Linked DNA regions of Homo sapiens: all the other regions are linked to region 4. The links are contacts of gene promoters, found by promoter capture Hi-C in human tissues and cell types (Jung and others, 2019). All regions are on one chromosome and are shown on one strand. The core of a region is centred on a gene start or on the middle of the fragment in contact, and the rest is flanking DNA. Distances in the headings are between cores, read along the strand shown. Region 1 overlaps TSPAN5 (tetraspanin 5). Region 2 has its middle 22 kb from the start of TSPAN5-DT. Region 3 has its middle 14 kb from the start of C4orf17. Region 4 holds the start of METAP1 (methionyl aminopeptidase 1). Region 5 has its middle 37 kb from the start of ADH7. Region 6 overlaps TSPAN5 (tetraspanin 5).

What was found. The method cuts DNA at HindIII sites, captures the fragments that hold promoters and counts their contacts. A contact is called where the count stands out against the background at its distance.
Region 1: a fragment that was not itself captured here is called in contact with the fragment with the promoter of METAP1 in region 4 in 2 of the 25 tissues and cell types used here (IMR-90 fibroblasts and spleen).
Region 2: a contact is called between a fragment that was not itself captured here and the fragment with the promoter of METAP1 in region 4, in 1 of the 25 tissues and cell types used here (aorta).
Region 3: a fragment that was not itself captured here is called in contact with the fragment with the promoter of METAP1 in region 4 in 1 of the 25 tissues and cell types used here (heart left ventricle).
Region 5: a contact is called between a fragment that was not itself captured here and the fragment with the promoter of METAP1 in region 4, in 1 of the 25 tissues and cell types used here (bladder).
Region 6: a fragment that was not itself captured here is called in contact with the fragment with the promoter of METAP1 in region 4 in 2 of the 25 tissues and cell types used here (dorsolateral prefrontal cortex and hippocampus).

The regions. Positions count from the first base shown.
Region 1 is chr4:98,491,800-98,494,687 of GRCh38, forward strand. The region is part of intron 2 of TSPAN5 (tetraspanin 5); the gene reads right to left. Among named protein-coding and RNA genes, the nearest start is that of TSPAN5, 170 kb to the right of the region's middle. The HindIII fragment of the contact is 4,595 bases long and covers 1-2,888 here.
Region 2 is chr4:98,679,546-98,682,610 of GRCh38, forward strand. No RefSeq gene overlaps it. Among named protein-coding and RNA genes, the nearest start is that of TSPAN5-DT, 22 kb to the left of the region's middle. The HindIII fragment of the contact is 4,437 bases long and covers 1-3,065 here.
Region 3 is chr4:99,495,665-99,498,581 of GRCh38, forward strand. No RefSeq gene overlaps it. Among named protein-coding and RNA genes, the nearest start is that of C4orf17, 14 kb to the right of the region's middle. The HindIII fragment of the contact is 9,310 bases long and covers 1-2,917 here.
Region 4 is chr4:98,993,997-98,997,005 of GRCh38, forward strand. It overlaps METAP1 (methionyl aminopeptidase 1), which reads left to right and starts at 1,725. Exons shown (of 11, transcript NM_015143.3): 1 at 1,725-1,871. The coding sequence starts at 1,758. RefSeq lists enhancers at 1,167-1,216, 2,138-2,920 and silencers at 1,457-1,776, 1,937-2,396. The HindIII fragment of the contact is 14,445 bases long and covers 1-3,009 here.
Region 5 is chr4:99,471,045-99,474,273 of GRCh38, forward strand. No RefSeq gene overlaps it. Among named protein-coding and RNA genes, the nearest start is that of ADH7, 37 kb to the left of the region's middle. The HindIII fragment of the contact is 6,213 bases long and covers 1-3,229 here.
Region 6 is chr4:98,628,563-98,631,437 of GRCh38, forward strand. The region is part of intron 1 of TSPAN5 (tetraspanin 5); the gene reads right to left. Among named protein-coding and RNA genes, the nearest start is that of TSPAN5, 29 kb to the right of the region's middle. The HindIII fragment of the contact is 5,638 bases long and covers 1-2,875 here.

The DNA.
Region 1 (2,888 bases), core at 49-2,548, 500 kb before region 4:
TCTGGACTTTTTAATTTCATTCAGCTCAATTTGACAGATGAGTAAGAAGTGCTAGTATATGCCTGCTGAAGAGTAATTATAATTAAACCTTGTAGTTGACAAGAAGCTGTAAGAAAAAAAATCTAAGATTACAGTTAAGTCTGCCAAGCAATTTAAAACAGGCACCAGATTCACAGTAAATCCTTAGGAATGTGCAAGAACACCACCAGCAGACACCTAGTCTTCTGGGAACCTGAGGCCCCCGCCTCTTCTGGGAACAGCACCACCTCCTCCTTGTAAGGATGCCTTCGCCCCTCCTTTCACTCCATGACCCCTCAGAGCTGCCAAGATCTCATACAATCCTGCTGGCCTGGTGAGGGCTGAGAAGCCTGGATTCCCTTCCTAAAGTGCCAGGATTTAGAACAGGCACCTTTCTCTAGTGGCTGAGACTCTAAAATGCCAAACTCCAGAGCCTTGTGAAGCATGTCATATTTCCTACCAAGTGGAGAAAGTCAGACAGCAGTGAGAAGCAGAAAACCGCGCTCAAGAAGAAACAAAGAACAAGAGTAGGGAGGGAAAATCCAGACAGCATTATAAATCCCCAGTCCAGTGGTTCCTGAGGCCTGCCCTAGAGCTCTATGTGTCACTCCAGGAGCCTTAGATACACTCCCTTGATTGCTTATGCTGGTTCTCTTTGGGTCTTCATTTGCATCTGCGAAGTCCTGCACAACACAAAAGCTTTGAATACACTATGCTTCAGTCCTCCATGCACGTAAACGCACACACAGACATGCACATAGACACACAGACACACGCACGTGGTCGAAGCTGGGAAAAAATGTGGGTATAGGGAGCAAAGGGATGTGCCAGGTTTTAAATGGTCATTTTCCCCAGCTGGCTGATATTTCAAGTCAACGTAGTAATTAAGCCGGTGTAAACAGTCTCATTCATGTTAACTCACTATGAATTCAGCATCATCAATGAAATGAGCAGTTCTGTGGAACTCTTATGGAACTTTTAGGTGATTTGTCTATGTTACTGACAAATAATGCATAACATGGTTTAACCTCCAATTCTGCATGTAAACTTGAATGTTCAGCCCTTGAGTTTAAATACCAACTTTTAAAACCTCAAACACGGAAAAAAATCAATACATTGGGAGGCCGAGGTAGGGGGATTGCCTGAAGCCAGAAGTTGAGACCAGCCTGGGCAATAAAACAAGACCCCATCTCTAGAAAAAATTTAAACATAAGTCAGGTACACTGGTGTGTGCCTGTAGTCCTAGCTACTTGGGAGGCTGAGGCAGAAAGATCACTTGAGCCCACGAGTTGGAGGCTGCAGTGAGCCATGATCACATCACTGCACTCCAGCCTGGGCAACAGAGTGAAATCACATCTCAAAAAGTAATAAAACATAAATAAGTAAATAAATACAAAATGTTATTTGACTACTCTCTTCTGTACCTGTTTATGCCAGAAGTGCACACACAGAGCTTGGCATCTATATTCCATAGGAAGTTCTCATCCTTCTCCTACCTGAATCCTACAAGCATAGCAAGCCCTGGGGGCTAAAGATGTCAAGGGTACTAGACTTCGCAGATAACATCAGAAAATATCCCATGAAGCTGAACCTAACTGGAACAAGGATAAATGAGTGAGAAGCAGAGTAACGGGCCACACACAGTTATTTCCATCCGTTTTAGTTGACATATGAAAGTGAGATTCTGAACAGTAGTAGCAGAAACAGAAAGATTCAGAATGAGAGAGAGCCAGAGACCAAGACTGCAGGTGATGAGAAAAATATATTCAAGATGATCGATTCAGAATGCTATGTGGGAAGAATTCCTCTACATATATCTTATTAATACATTAAAATTTTATTAGTAAGAACTGATATAAATGAATATATTCATAAGAATTCTTCGTATGCAGACTATATGCTATGTCAATATTCTTCTTAGGATCCTTAATCTTCTCTTCTCCTGCCTCTGAGGTCTACAGCTGTTGTTGCAGCAGGCAGCAGAGGCAAAAAACAAATTGACCATAACATAAAGTGCTGCTATAAAGACAAAATGAATAGCAGTCAATTTAAAAAGTTGAAAGAAAAAAATATATTCAACAAATTGGCCATTCTGCAAATTAGCTTTTGGACAACTAACTCTGGCATATCCACTTGAAGCCTTTAAGAGATGATTCTGCAATAGGAGATTTCCATTATCCACTAGGTACCAGACAGCATCTCTCATAACTTAGCAAAGAGACCAGTATATGTCTAAGAAGAAATAAGACACATTAGTGGTCCATGTCTGAGGCAATAGGATTGTAACAGAAGTTTAGAGAGCCAACAAGCAACAATGTATCCATTTGCACCCATCGTGGTACAAGGGAGACTCTGATATTCCAGCCACTTAGACTAGCCTGCTCTAGAGTGGGGCAGAGAGAGCATTCCAGAATCAACCTCCTCCTGAACAAACCATCCTGAACTGTACTTAAGCCAATGAGGCTCACCTCCAATATCCCCTGGGATCCAAGTAAATCCAAAACTCAGAAAGTGGGGTAGCCTGGACAATGGGGGAGACAGACAAACAGACAGACACTAATACAGACTAGCTTGTCTTGAATCCCAATGCTAAGCCAAATTGAGGCTTAGGCAGATGAAGTAACCTGCCTAAGATCGCACTTACTACCTGTGTCATCTTAGGCAGATTACCTCATCTGCCTAAGCCTCAATTTCTGTATCTGTGAAAATGGTACTCTATGTCCTAAGGTTATTATGAGGATGATGGAAACAATCCAAGTAAATCCAAACACGATGTGAAGTGCTTCGAATATAATAAGAATTAAATAAAAGTATATTGCCATAATCACTGTTATCACTATTATATTAATAATATAATTATTAGAACAAGA
Region 2 (3,065 bases), core at 536-3,035, 310 kb before region 4:
ACAAGCAATTTGAATTTGTATCAAGATCCCTCAAAAAGAAAAGTCTGTATTCAGTGGGTGACTTGGCATCTCCACTTGTAGACTATCTTAAAGAAATATAAAGCTTTTCATAAAAATAAATAAAAATATATATCCCATTATTTATAATTACCTACAAATGGAAATGAAAGTTTTGCAGATACAGTGGACCTGAAATGGTTAAATTAGAAAACAGCCTTTCCTGTTGGAGCCAGAAAATAATTTCTAATAACGTTACAAAGGAAGCTTCACTGCATGCATTCTTTTGCCCAGTGGGGATCTCTTTGTAGCCCTGACCCCAATCAGTAAGTTACTTCGCCCACCAAAAGAAGAAGAATTTAGCTTCCATCCACACAATGTGGGCACAACCTACAGGCCGCTGACCAGGGAACATGGAGAACCAGATTAAAGGGCTGGAAAACTACAGGATCATGCAAATAGAAAGGGAAGCTTCCTCTGATAACAAACAAGCAGCAATAGGCATTCTTGCAGAGTTTATTGAAGGAAAACAATGTCTCCTTTGCAATAAAATCGATATAGGCTATTATTTTGAGCAAACTCAAAGACAGAATTTCTGCAGAGAAATTAGGGTGAAAAATGAAAGAAAATGACATTCCTGAAAATACTGCCTTAGGACAAGGCTCTTGAGGAAGATCATCAGCAGAACTTAGGTAAAGTCCAAAGCAGGGGAATCAGGCTCAGACTTCACACTCCAAGCATGCATTCATTTATTCACTCATTCATTCTTTCAGTAATTTATGTGTTGACGTAGCAAATATTTATTGAGCAGCAAATATATGCTAGACACTAAGCAAATATTGGAGGTTAAATTACCTTAGTGAAAAAGACAAGAAAAGTGTGCTTTCATGGATTGTATAATAGCAGCAAAGCTAGGCCTTAAAACAATAAAAAAAATTATTTAAGTTCAAATTGATAAGTACTAACAACAAAGAAGTTTTGAAATCTGTGAGAGTGAGTGACAGGAGAACCTAACCTAATCAGGGGATCAGATAATTCATTTGGGGGTTTCTAAGAGATTTGAAATTTTTAATGAACTTTTAAAGGTGAAAGATATTTACCTAAGGTAATCATTTTTACCAATTCCTTACTGGGGACAGAAATGGAAACTTAACTATTTGTAGTTTACTGAATACACAATATACATATATTTTCTATAGAGTTAAATATTAACTATAGGTTTTATACCATTGTATGAATTCCAGCAAACACATTCTATTATTTCTATAAAGACCTAAATTATTCTTTTGAATAGATACTTAGGCTGAGAGGAAACTTCCCATCTATTTAGTAAAGAGTATGGTATTTAACATCACTTTCTTCTGTCTAGTTATTCTAACAATGCCAAACCATAACCATTTAGTATAGGCATTTCAAGATAATACATCAATTCAAAACAAGTATTCATTGAGTGTGTGTTGTGTGATAAGCTGTGTTTTTGCAGCTGAGATAACAGTGGTGAGGAAAACAGACAAGGTCCCTGACTTTCTGGAATTTACATCTTAAAATGAACTTAAATTGTTTCTAATGTTTTAATTGACATTTCCAATAGCAATGGGAATGACCACTTTACTGCATATTGTATTCTCATCAATAGTGAGTACTATCATTACTTGCTTTTATAGAAGGAAAGTACAAAAAAAATGAAGGCATTGTTATGGGTTGAATTGTGTCCCCCCAAAAAAGATATGTTGAAGTCTCAAGCCCTAGTACCTCAGAAATGTGACCTTATTTGGAAACAGGGCTTGTGCAGATGTAGACAAGTTAAGATGAAATCATTAAAGTGGTCCCGACTCCAGTTGACTGTTCTCCCTGTGAATGCCATGTGAAGAGAAGGCAGAGATCGGGGTCATGCAACTATAAGCTAAGCAACACCGATTGCCAGCAACCACCAGAAGCTAGGAGAGAGGCACTGAACAGATTCTCCCTCATGTCCTCAGAAGGAACCAGCCCTGCCAACTCCTTGATCTCCGACTTCTGCCCTCCAGACAGAGACAATACACTTGTAGGTTAAGCCACCCAGTTTGTGGTACTTTGTTGTGTTAGCCCTATTAAACCAATACAGGTATGTTTCTTAAGTTGGGTTCCACTGGAAGCAGAGATTTACAAATGACTTGGGTGGTAATTGATGTTTGACACGTGCTCAGATATAAATCTCACTCTCGAAAGTATCATGATGTTTTGTTTGTTTTCTCTTATTTTCCCTGTGGTTTTAGACATTAAAGATAATGAAGCAGGCGGTGGCATGTCTGTAATCCCAGTACTTTGATAAGCCAAGGTGAGAGGATTGCTTGAGGTCAGGAGTTTGAGACCAGCCTGGGCAACATAGTGAGACCCCTTCTGTACAAAAAATTAAAAAAAAAATAGCCCGCCATGGTGGCATGTGCCTGTAGCCCTACCTACACTGGAGGCTGAGGCAGGGGGATCTCGTTAAGTCCAAGAATTCAAGGCCATAGTGAGCTGGGATCTTGCAATTGCATTCTAGCCTGGGTGGCAGACAGAGACCCTGTCTCTAATTTAAAACAAAGAAAGATAACCGAGCAAACCAGAGACTGCCAATGGGCAATGAAGGCCTTTACCATGAATTGACAAATTTGGGTAATCAGTGATTAGAATTGGATGCAGGAGGAGAGGATCTAGCTTTTGGGAGGCTTGAAGTTTATTTAATCTTCTCTTTAAGAAAAAGAGTATAAAATTATAAATATAAAATTAGATACAAAAGTAAATATTTATTTAGAATAAAAAGAAATAAAAAATAAATTACAAACATTAGAAAGATGATAAATACTATGAATACCCATACATCTAGAACCCAATTTTTTTTTAATTCTCTGACAGCTTTTTATAATATATTTTTCTGCATATTTTGGCTGCATATTCTTTGATCACCTCTTTAACATCAATTTTGTAACACAGCTTTCTAAAGATAGAAAACAGCCTTCCTCTAGCATGGTTGGTCTAAATTTGTGTTTTATTATTGATAGATGGGATGCATAAAACATGCAACCTCACACATAGATGTGTTCACT
Region 3 (2,917 bases), core at 271-2,770, 500 kb after region 4:
ATTCTACCAGAGGTACAAAGAGGAGCTGGTACCATTCCTTCTGAAACTATTCCAATCAATGGAAAAACAGGGAATCCTTCCTAACTCATTTTATGAGGACAACATCATCCTGATAGCAAAGCCTGGCAGAGACACAACCAAAAGAGATAATTTTAGACCAATATCCTTGATGAACATTGATGCAAAAATCCTCAATAAAATACCGGCAAACTGAATCCAGCAGCACATCCAAAAGCTTATCCACCATGATCAAGTGGGCTTCATCCCTGGGATGCAAGGCTGGTTCAACATACACAAATCAATACATGTAATCCAGCATATAAACAGAACCAAAGACAAAAAGCACATGATTATCTCAATACATGCAGAAAAGGCCTTTGACAAAATTCAACAACCCTTCATTCTAAAAACTCTCAATAAATTAGGTATTGATGGGACGTATCTCAAAATAATAAGAGCTATTTATGACAAACCCACAGCCAATATCATACTGAATGGACAAAAACTGGAAGCATTCCCTTTGAAAACTGGCACAAGACAGGGATGCCCTCTCTCACCACTCCTATTCAACATAGTGTTGGAAGTTCTGGCCAGGGCAATTAGGCAGGAGAAGGAAATAAAGGGCATTCAGTTAGTAAAAGAGGAAGTCAAATTGTCCCTGTTTGCAGATGACATGATTGCATATCTAGAAAACCCCATCGTCTCAGCCCAAAATCTCCTTAAGCTGATAAGCAACTTCAGCAAAGTCTCAGTATACAAATCAATGTGCAAAAATCACAAGCATTCTTATACACCAATAACAGACAAACAGAGAGCCAAATCATGAGTGAACTCCCATTCACAATTGCTTCCAAGAGAATAAAATACCTAGGAATGCAACTTACAAGGGATATGAAGGACCTCTTCAAGGAGAACTACAAACCACTGCTCAAGGAAATAAAAGAGGATACAAACAAATGGAAGAACATTCCATGCTCATGGATAGGAAGAATCAATATCGTGAGAATGGCCATACTGCCCAAGGTAATTTATAGATTCAATGCCATCCCCATCAAGCTACTAATGACTTTCTTCACAGAATTGGAAAAAGCTACTTTCAAGTTCATATGGAACCAAAAAAGAGCCCGCATGGCCAATTCAATCCTAAGCCAAAAGAACAAACCTGGAGGCATCACACTACCTGACTTCAAACTATACTACAAGGCTACAGTAACCAAAACAGGATGGTACTGGTACCAAAACAGAGATATAGATCAATGGAACAGAACAGAGCCCTCAGAAATAATGCTGCATATTTACAACCATCTGATCTTTGACAAACCTGACAAAAACAAGCAATGGGGAAAGGATTCCCTATTTAACAAATGGTGCTGGGAAAACTGGCTAGCTATATGTAGAAAGCTGAAACTGGATACCTTCCTTACATCTTATACAAAAATTAATTCAAGATGGATTAAAGACTTAAATGTTAGACCTAAAACCATAAAAACCCTAGAAGAAAACCTAGGCAACACCATTCAGGACATAGGCATGGGCAAGAACTTCACGTCTAAAACACCAAAATCAATGGCAACAATAGCCAAAATTGACAAATGGGATCTAATTAAACTAAAGAGCTTCCGCACAGCTAAAGAAACCACCATCAGAGTGAACAGGCTACCTACAGAATGGGAGAAAATTTTCGCAACCTACTCATCTGACAAAGGGCTAATATCCAGAATCTACAATGAACTCCAACAAATTTACAAGAGAAAAACAAACAACCCCACCAAAAAGTGGGTGAAGGATATGAACAGACACTTCTCAAAAGAAGACATTTAGGCAGCCAAAAAACACATGAAAAAATGCTCATCATCACTGGCCATCAGAGAAATGCAAATCAAAGTCACAAGGAGATACCATCTCACACCAGTTAGAATGGCGATCATTAAAAAGTCAGGAAACAACAGGTGCTGGAGAGGATATGGAGAAATAGGAACACTTTTACACTGTTGGTGGGACTGTAAACTAGTTCAACCATTGTGGAAGTTGGTGTGGTGATTCCTCAGGGATCTAGAACTAGAAATACCATTTGACCCCGCCATCCCATTACTGGGATTTATATACCCAAAGGATTATAAATCATGCTGCTATAAAGACACATGCACACGTATGTTTATTGCAGCACTATTCACAATAGCAAAGACCTGGAACCAACCCAAATGTCCAACAATGATAGACTGGATTAAGAAAATGTGGCACATATACACCATGGAATACTATGCAGCCATAGAAAATGATGAGTTCATGTCCTTTGTAGGGACATGGATGAAGCTGGAAACAATCATTCTCAGCAAACAATCGCAAGGACAAAAAACCAAACACCACATGTTCTCACTCATAGGTGGGAATTGAACAATGAGAACACATGGACACAGGAAGGGGAACATCACACACCGGGGATTGTTGTGGGGTGGGGGGAGGGGGAGGGATAGCATCAGGAGATATACCTAATGCTAAGTGACGAGTTAATGGGTGCAGCACACCAACATGGCACATGTATACCTATGTAAGAAACCTGCATGTTGTGCACATGTACCTTAAAACTTAAAGTAGAATTAAAAAAAAAAAAAAAAAGAACGCCTTTAAGCGGTTTTCCGCCCTCGGTGGGCCAGGTGTTCCTTTCCCTCATTCCAGTGAACCCACAGCCTTCCAGCGTGGGCGCCATGGCCATCATGAACATGTCACAGTGCTACAGAGATTTTGTTTATGGCCAGTTTTGGAGGCAGTTTATGGCCAGATTTTGGGGGCTTATTCCCAACAAGTTCAGCCATGGAACCAAAGGTATTATTTAAGTGGAAAGTTTTAAGAGGCCTTTCTGTAAGTTTTCACGGTGCTGGGGTATAGGTGCCTCATGGTCCAGCCTAGTCCTCAGATA
Region 4 (3,009 bases), core at 475-2,974:
CGAGAGCAAGCAAGGGCTGCGAGGGCTGCCAGCATGCTGTCACCTCGCTGTCACCTCTCACTGTGAGCACCACTGCACTCCAGCCTGGTTGACAGGATGAGATGCTGTCTCAAAGAAAAACCAAACGACAAACAAAAAGTTGACATCATAGTAACTGAAGAAATCAGGTAAGTAAATTACTTTATATGGTATGGTGCAGTTTTTATTTAAAAAATATTTTATACATACATACATACTTATTGATTTTTTTCTTGTATACAAAAGTATATGTATGTATGCATGTAAACATTTCTATTACTTGATTTTATTACATCATTTTTACTGCTTATATTGCAAAACTAAGTTTTTTTTTTTTTGAGACATGGTCTTGCTCTGCCGTTTGGGCTGGAGTGCAGTGGCAGGATCATAGCTTACCATATCCTTGACTTCTCAGGTTCAACAGATCCTCCCAGCTCAGCCTCCTCAGTAGCTGGGACTACAGGCGCCTGCCACCATGCCCGGCTAATTTTTTAGTTTTTAGTTTTAGTTTTTGTAGAGACGGGGTTTTGCCATATTTCCACCCTGGTCTCGAACTCCTGGCCTCAAAGAATCCGCTGGCCTTGGTGCCCTGGATGCCCTGGCCTCTCAAAGTGCTGGGATTGATTACAGGCGTCAGCCACCGCTCCTAGCCAAAACAAAGTTCTTAAAAATAAAAGTAGTATGAGCTTTTCTGGTGTATTAAGTACGGAGAAGTTAAAAAAATACAATAACAAAGTTCACAGCCTTTTGTGATCAGTAAATGTTAGTTTTTCGCTCTTCCCTAGTGACAAGGAGGCACTCAAGCATGAGTTACAACACAACCGACCTGGAATACAGCTGAAAAGATTGAAGCAACAGGTTCGCAGGGGAAGGCCTTTACAGCTTCTTTCGACTCTGACATTTCAGGATCAGCACAATTCTCCCCTATTTACTGCTGAAGCAATCAACTGGGATTATACAAAAAAATTATTTGTATTGAATACCTGACAGTTGTGTTACTATTACTAGCACTATCGGTTTTGAAGGGGAGGTGGTGGTGTGTGGAAAAAAAAAGTCTGGCAGGAGGGAGGGCAGATGTGAATCCCAGCCCACCGTCCCGTTGACAGCTCTATGGCTCTCCTTTCTGTGAATGAGCGGTGGTCCTTAGGCCTCAGACCCGACAATGTCAGTGAGAAACAGAACTTAACCCAAGGGACTGTTCTCCAAGGAGCGGCGGGGGAATCCAACGCAGAGGAGCGCAGCGCCCTCTCTAGCCTCCTGCGGGTGTCGGGGATGATCAGGGCTCCTGGGTGTTCGTCAGTGAAGACGACTGTCTTATCTGACTGTAGGCACAGAGAGTGCGCCGCGAGAGGGCGGCTCCTCACCGTCAGGCGCCGGCAGGTCGCGTTCTCTGCTGGCCGACGCCCGAAGGCGCCGAATGGGGGGGCCCTGCCGAGCTCCCTTACAGCCCCAATGTGCGCGCCGCCGGGAGGCTTGGGCACGCAGGCACCGCCGGCGGGGGGCGGGGCGAAGCCGGCGGGGCGGGGCACCAGCTGCGCGCGCGGGGCGGGGGCGGGGCCGGGGCGGGGCGCGCTGCGTGGTCCCGGCCGGCCCTGGCTCCTCCCCCTCCCGCGCCCAGGCCAGCGGCGGGCCCAGCTCCTCCCCCGACTCGGTCTCTCTCCCCTCCCCTCCGCCCGGCAGTTCCTCCCTCCCGCCGCCGCCTCTTCCTCGGTGAGGCGCTCTTCCAGCGGGCAGGCAGCATGGCGGCCGTGGAGACGCGGGTGTGCGAGACAGACGGCTGCAGCAGTGAGGCCAAGCTCCAGTGTCCCACTTGCATCAAGCTGGGCATCCAGGGCTCGTACTTCTGCTCGCAGGTAGGCGCCCGCTGCCCCGCGGATATGCCGCCGCTGCGGGACCCCTCCTCGCTTCTCCCCTGCTGGCTCCTCCCGCCCTTGCGGCGAGTCGGGACGCGCTCCTCCTCTTCCCCCCGGCCGCGTTTCCTCCTCCCCCCACCCGCGTCGCCACCGCCCCCTCCTGCCTCCTGGGGTCCCTGGGTCCTCGGGAACCGCGCTGGGCTCACGCGGGGGCGGGGGCGCCACCCGCCGCGGCCATGTGGGCTGGGGCGGAAGCGGGCTGTGCGGGGTCGCGTGGCCGCGCTAGACCTCCGCGTTCTGGGGCCGGTTCCCCGCGCTGGGGCGGGGGCCGCCAGGTGTGCGGGCTGCCGGAGGCAGGTAGCGGCGCCGGGAAGGAGGGCAGCCCGAGCGTCGCGAGCCTCCACATCCGCAGCACCGGCGGGGCTCGGGTCTGGGCGCTGGAGGCGCCGGGCCGTCCGTCGGGTCCCTGCGGGGTGGGGGGCTGAAGCTACCTGCCGGGCTCTGAGAGATGGGTGGCCCGAGGACCGTCGGAGTCGCAGAGAGGAGGAACGCTAGCTAGCTCCAGCCCCACTTCTTTGTGCTTTACTACCGTGCTTTGACACTTAAGCAACTTTGGGGGTGGGGAAGGGAGAGGTCTGTGTAATTCATTCTTTTCTTTCGGTATATAAAATTATTAATTTACAAAACTGTAAGCTAACGGGATGAGTCACCTGTGACTGAATTTCCCAGAGTGAAAAGGACAGTTCCATTGAGGGTTAGGCGTGAATGCTGTAGTGTATTTTAAGTTTTGTGCAGTAGAGCAAACCCAGCGTTGAATGGGGTCCAGACTGAAGCGTGTGCTCGTGTTTCTGTTTACTGAAGAGTACTAGTGTTGCTGCTGCATTTCGAGACCCAGGATGAGGGCTGGGCGGCAATAGTATGGCTCTTAGTTACAGTCCAGGTTTAGTGAAGAGAGGCACATGAATATTCAAATATTAAATTGGTAGCGTCCTGTGGGGAGGAGAGCCGGAATAAAGAGAAGGCCTGATTGGGGCCCTGCCCTTGCCAGTTATTGTGCGATCTTGAATTAGTAAAGTTACTTAATCTTTCTGAGTTCCAGTGTTACACTGTACAGAGGGGATGATTATAGCTTTCTTTG
Region 5 (3,229 bases), core at 509-3,008, 480 kb after region 4:
TAAATTTCCTATACCAAAAGAGAAGACCAGCAAACTCTTTACTTTTCATATTCCAGTTTTCTTCAAAAAGCAAGCTTTCTAAATGATAATCTCCTAAAAATACCAGTTAAGAACAGATGCTACCATTTTGCTAGTACTTTATGAGAGAACTCCAAGAATCCTAATGAGTTGCTATCCCACTCTCAACACTTCCCTTTACTCCTGTTTTCCATGCATTCTTTTCTATATGCAAGAAAACAAAGAAAAATGCAATAAGTAAATGTAAAATACTAAGTGGTATAAACTAAGTTGTGTATTCTCAAATGTGCTAAGCAACAAGGAAGCCTGACTTGTAACATTATGTGTTTGTTCCTTCCTTTCATTTTGTGAAAATTTATAAAACCATTAAACCTAGAATGGGGGAAAAGAAGGCAACCATAAAAGCTGAAAAATGGCAGTCTTGGGCATACATCTCTTCCTCCTACCCCCCTTTCTTTTGTGCCTTGAGCTTTTTAAACAGGATGGCCTGAAGGAGGCATCACAGAGATGAGCTTGGTTTACTTCTTGTATACATTAAATGCAAGAGCCTATGATGGAGGCTTTAAAAGACTGTGATGGAAAAAAGCCAATCTAAATCCTTACCTTTGCATTATTTATTCCTGCCCTCTTCCTGCAAGTAATCCACAGCCTATCAAACATACTTTTTCTAGTGGAGCATCAGGATCAATTTTGACAAATGCACTTTCTCTTAACACTGTGTATTCAGTGAAGGTGCTTGTGTTAGGGAGTTGGTAGATTGGTTTTCTTTTACAGGTAAATCTGGTGGTGTCATCAGCCATGGTTTCACAAATACCATCAAAGCTTAGTAAAGCAAACCATAAAAGCACATATGAGAGATGAATGGAGGTATAGGATGAAATTTTAGTAATTAAAGAGACCTACTTGAATTGATTGCATATATTTCCTTTAGGGATCAAACAAGGGTCAGATTTTCCATACTGAAGGATGACTTTGTCTCCTGGAGAGAACAATGCAATCATTCATCAAAAAGTCTCTCTGGAATGTTGAAAGGATAAATATATACAAAAGACTACGGTGTATTTCAATTAAAACCTCTCACAACACATGCCCAAGCTTACTTTTAACAAAGTTAGATATCCTTTATCTTCTTGATTAAATTTATCAAAGAACTGGGTTTTGAGCCATGTACTTACTATTTCCTAGCTGTAGTAAGACACTTGATTGTTCTGTCAGTATTATCTAAAATGTCCAATTTCTCAAAAATTACAAGACATGCAAAAAAATAAAACCAGAAATTATGACCCATACACTGGAAAAAAAAGCAGGCAAAAGAAATTGCCTGTGAGAACAACCAGACATTGAATTTAACACACAAAGCCTTCAAAGTAGACATTATAAATATGATCAAAGAACTAAAGAAAACTATAATTAAATAAAGGAAGGTGGCTTAGTCTGTGCTGCTATAACAGAATGCCTGAGACTGGGTAATTTATAAAGAACAAAAATTTATTTCTCACAGTTCTGGAGGCTGGGAAGTTCAAAATCAAGATATGGGCATCTAATGTGGGCCTTTTTATTGCATTCTCACATGACAGAGTGTGGAAGGATAAGAGAGAATAAACCCACTTTTGCAAGCCCTTTTCATAGCAACATTAATTTATTCATGAGGGCGCCACCCTCATGACCTAATCACCTCCCAAAAGTTCTCACCTCCCAACACTGTAACATTGGGAATTAGGTTTCCAACACATGAATTTTGAAAAGGACACATTCAAACCATAGCATTTGACCTCTGGTCCCCTAAAATTCATGTCCTTCTCACGTACAAAATACATGCACTCCACCCTAATAGCCCCCGAAGTCTTAACTAGCTCCAGTGTTAAATTTTCTTCTACTGTGAGCCTGTGAGCAAACCAGCTATGCACTTCCAGAACACAATGGTGGGACAGCTACAGGAAGGACATTCCCATCCCAAAAAGGAGAAACAGTGAAAAAAAGAAAAGCAACAAGTCCCAAGTAGGTCCAAAACCCAACAAAGCAAACAACGTCAGGTCTTAAGACTTGAGAATAATCTTCTTTTACTCCATGTCCTATCTTCTAGACACACTGGGGTGAGGGTTGGGCCCCAAAGGCTTCAGGCAGCCCTGCACCTATGGCTTTGCTGGGAACAGTTCATGCTTCAGCTCTCATTCATTGAAGTCACATACCTGAGGCTTTTTCAGGCTGATGATGCATGCTGGTGGCTCTACAGTTCTGGCATCTTGGAAGCAGCCCCATTCCCACAGCTCCACTAGGCATTGTCCTAGTGGGGATTCTCTGTGGTTGCCCTGACATCACAGTTTTGCTTGACATTGTCCTAGTGGGGACTATTTTCATCATCCTTTGAAACTGGCTACACACCCACTAGCATGTGGCAAGAATCAAAAAATGAGGATGTAGCAAAATAAGAGCTCTCCTACGCTGCTGGCAGGAGTGTAAAACAGTATGGCAGTACTCAAACTACAAAACACAGAGTTACCCAGGAAAAATGGTAATGTATGTCCACACAGAATCTTGTATGTGAATATTCATAGAAGCATTATTTACAACAGCCAAAATGTAAAAAAAAAAAAAAAAAAAATCCAAATCCTCATCAATTCATGATTGGATAAATAAAATGTGGTATCCACTGGAAAATTATTCAGCCATAAAAAGAAATGAAATACTGATACATGTTATAGCATGAATGAACCTTCATGCTAAGTGAAAGAAGCCGGACAGACACCAAAGACTACATATCATATGATTCAATGTATGCAAAATGTTTAGAATAGGCAAATCTACAGAGACAAAATAGGAGATTGCACATTTCTTAGGGCTTGGTCAGTGGAGGAGGAATGGGGGTAGCTAAAGAGTACAGAGTTTGTATTTAAGGTGACAAAAACGTTCTATAGCTGACTATGGTGATGGTTGCACATATTTGCAGATATACTAAAAACCATTGAATTGTCCACTTTAAATGCGTGAATTGTGTGGTGTGTGAAATACACATCAATAGAGTTCTTAATGCATTCAGTAAGTTAGTGGTAAAGACAGAAAGCATTTAACAGCTATCTCTCATTGGCACTTGGCAATTTTATACATTAGCCATAGTAGCTCATGAAATATTTTTTTCCCTAAGAAGAGAACTAGGAGAACTCTCTTATTGTTTATTAAGATTCCTGAGAGGGAAAAGATTTCTGTTACAATA
Region 6 (2,875 bases), core at 313-2,812, 370 kb before region 4:
GCAACACAGGTACAGATTCCTGGGTCAACCAACAGCTAATGGAAACCAGCTCCCTGATAGGCATGGCAGAAGCATTGCTGACCCCTTTACCACACTCCCCATCACTCCCTATTGCATTCCCAGCACCCTTAATGGCTTATTTTCTGCCTGGTCCTTCTAAGCATAGGAATCTGCAACACCAGCTTTTAAAACAACTAAAACAAACAAACAAAAATTACTACTCAACTTGCTGATATATCAAAACTGAGCTGTATCATACATTGTCCTATGATACATTGTACATTGCAGAGAGAAGGCATGCTAAGTTAATATTATGGATAAATTACTTTAAGATTTCTCTAAATGACATTCTCACAAGCATCCCTGGCAAAAGGCAACATCTATAATCTTTAACTGAAAACACTTTGCTTTGGAAATGGGAATGCTTTGAATGTACCTTAGCTTATCAAAGCATAAATTTACTTGTTTTTAAATGAGTTCAAAACTAGCCATCATAGTTATTTATGTATATGTTACTGCAATTAAATAAAAAGGAAAAAATGCTTATAAACACACACATATTATCCTGAAACAGAAACAATAAGCATAATTACTCTAAAGTGGCAAAGAATGGATAATTTGTCTATGAACTATTTCACAGTCTTTGAGTTGTACTGTGTATTACACATAACCAGAATATCTTCAGTCTCAAAAAGACTATTTCTGAGCACACAACCAAGATTGCAGGCAAGTCACACAACCCCTCTGTGCCTCGATGTCCTCATCAGAATAATGTGAAAAATAATAGTGCAGACATCTTAAAGGGTTACTGGGAGGATTAAATGAGCTGATACATACAAACAGCACTTATAACACTGCCTACCACTATTGCCCAACCTTGTATCAATCGACACACTAGCCTAAAATGCTGATAAATTACGTTCTCCTAATGCAAACATTCTCATCTCTGCTCTGGTTTGCAGAATGAAGCAGTCTCCTGGTCTTTTATCCAAAGCACACTCCAGTATTATTAATTTAAGTTGCTGCTAAATCTCAAAAGTCATTAATAAAATGTAGTGATTTCTCAAATGGTTTATGGTCAGCCACTCTAAGAGGTACTTAATAGAAAAGAATTAGCTCAAAGCTGGTATCCAGATGATTTATCAAAACAACTATCAGGTTTAAAGAAAATCCCCAGGGCAGTAAAAACCCAGCATTCAAAAAACACCAATGAAGAAAAAGACTGTTGCTATTCACAAAGGTACAGACTGTTAGTGAGTGAATAAATGGAAGAATAAATGAATGAAGATCAAATGGGTTATTTGCTGCTGACCACAAACTTATGCTTCCCTTTCAAAAAAAAGTATTTTTAATCAGATCCTCTGCTTATATTTGTGTCATTGTTAAACTGTCTTGTCATACTTACATAACCAGGTAATAATAATCTATGAAAATACTCGACTAACCAACCCAAACGCTTTCCCTAAATCTTAACATATGCACTGACTGCATTTGGTGTGGTCAGAGATGGGCCCTGTCCTGAATTCACGCTCGAGTTGGGGAACAAAACTAACCAACAAGGATTAAGTGGTAACCTCTGAGTATCTACTAAACAGCATCAGAGTTCCTGGAGGGTTATGCCCAGGGTAGGCTGCAAGGGTGCTCAAAGTGAACAAGAACAGGACAAAGGCAAAGCAGAGGAGGCACCAAACGAAAAGCACTGCAGCTGTTCCAGCCATGAGGCCTGATGGAGAAAACAACATGGCACATGTTCTGCTCAGCAAATCCCTACCCGCCTCCAATACATACAGCAGCACCACCTCCTCTAAAACATTCCCTCATTACCTGATCTTTAGACTTATACACCACTTCTCGTTTATGTGTGTATTTATTTATATGTTTTTCCTCCATTGGACTGAGAGCTCTCAAAGCACAAGAATCACCTTAATCCATCTTGTATTGTCATCCGAGGCACGCATATTCCCTAAACATCCCTGGATTGAATGAAGATGACTTAGCAAAGGGAGGGATTCTCTCAACCCGGGAGACTGTGCACATAACTAGAAAGGGAGGGGCCCACGGAATCCAACGCCAAGCTTCCTGTGCATTGGTGCTACCCAGGAGAAAGGAGTGCCCCTGTCCTCAAGAAACTTAAGTCCACTTAGATCACAAAAAGTTCTCTGAGAAAGTATGTGAAGGGCTCTATTTAGACAGCTATTTATTACTCTGAATTTGAAGCCCTCCTCCCCTTGAAGTAAGGCCTACTGGCTTAAGGGCCCTGCAGAGCTAAAGATGTGAGGATAACTTGCCACTGGTGCTTAGCACAAATAGCGAATGAGAGTTCACTGGGAAGTACAAACGAAGGGAATCAACTTACTCATAAATCTCAACACCCTTTCTTTTGCTCACTGGCTGAGAAACTGCCATCTGGAAGGCTCAGCAGATAGATGAAAGGCATTATCACAGTTCTACTGGAATATTTCTGCTTGGCAAAGAACACAAGATGCCAGAACTTGAAAAAAATCATGTAATTCTGATGACCTCATTTCACCTTTCTTTTCAGCCAATCCAAATTCAGCCTGTTGTAGATATTTAACAATTAGAGAAACCTTGCAATTACTTTGCTGAATCGCTCGACTGGCAAAACGTCCACAAGGCCTGCGCATCTCCTACATTCTAATGCTCTGGTAGCTCTGAGACCCACGGCAAGCAAGGAGAGCACCCCCTACAGACAACATTCACACTGAGAAGTGGCAAGAAAGTGAGGAAGACAATTCCAGGTCCCTGAGTCCACCACCAGACTCTCATCAAGTTCACCCCAATATCTGGGAAGCATATAGCCTTCACTGCACATGTTCCATCCCTGACTCCGGGTGGGTGCACCTGTACCTGTGAA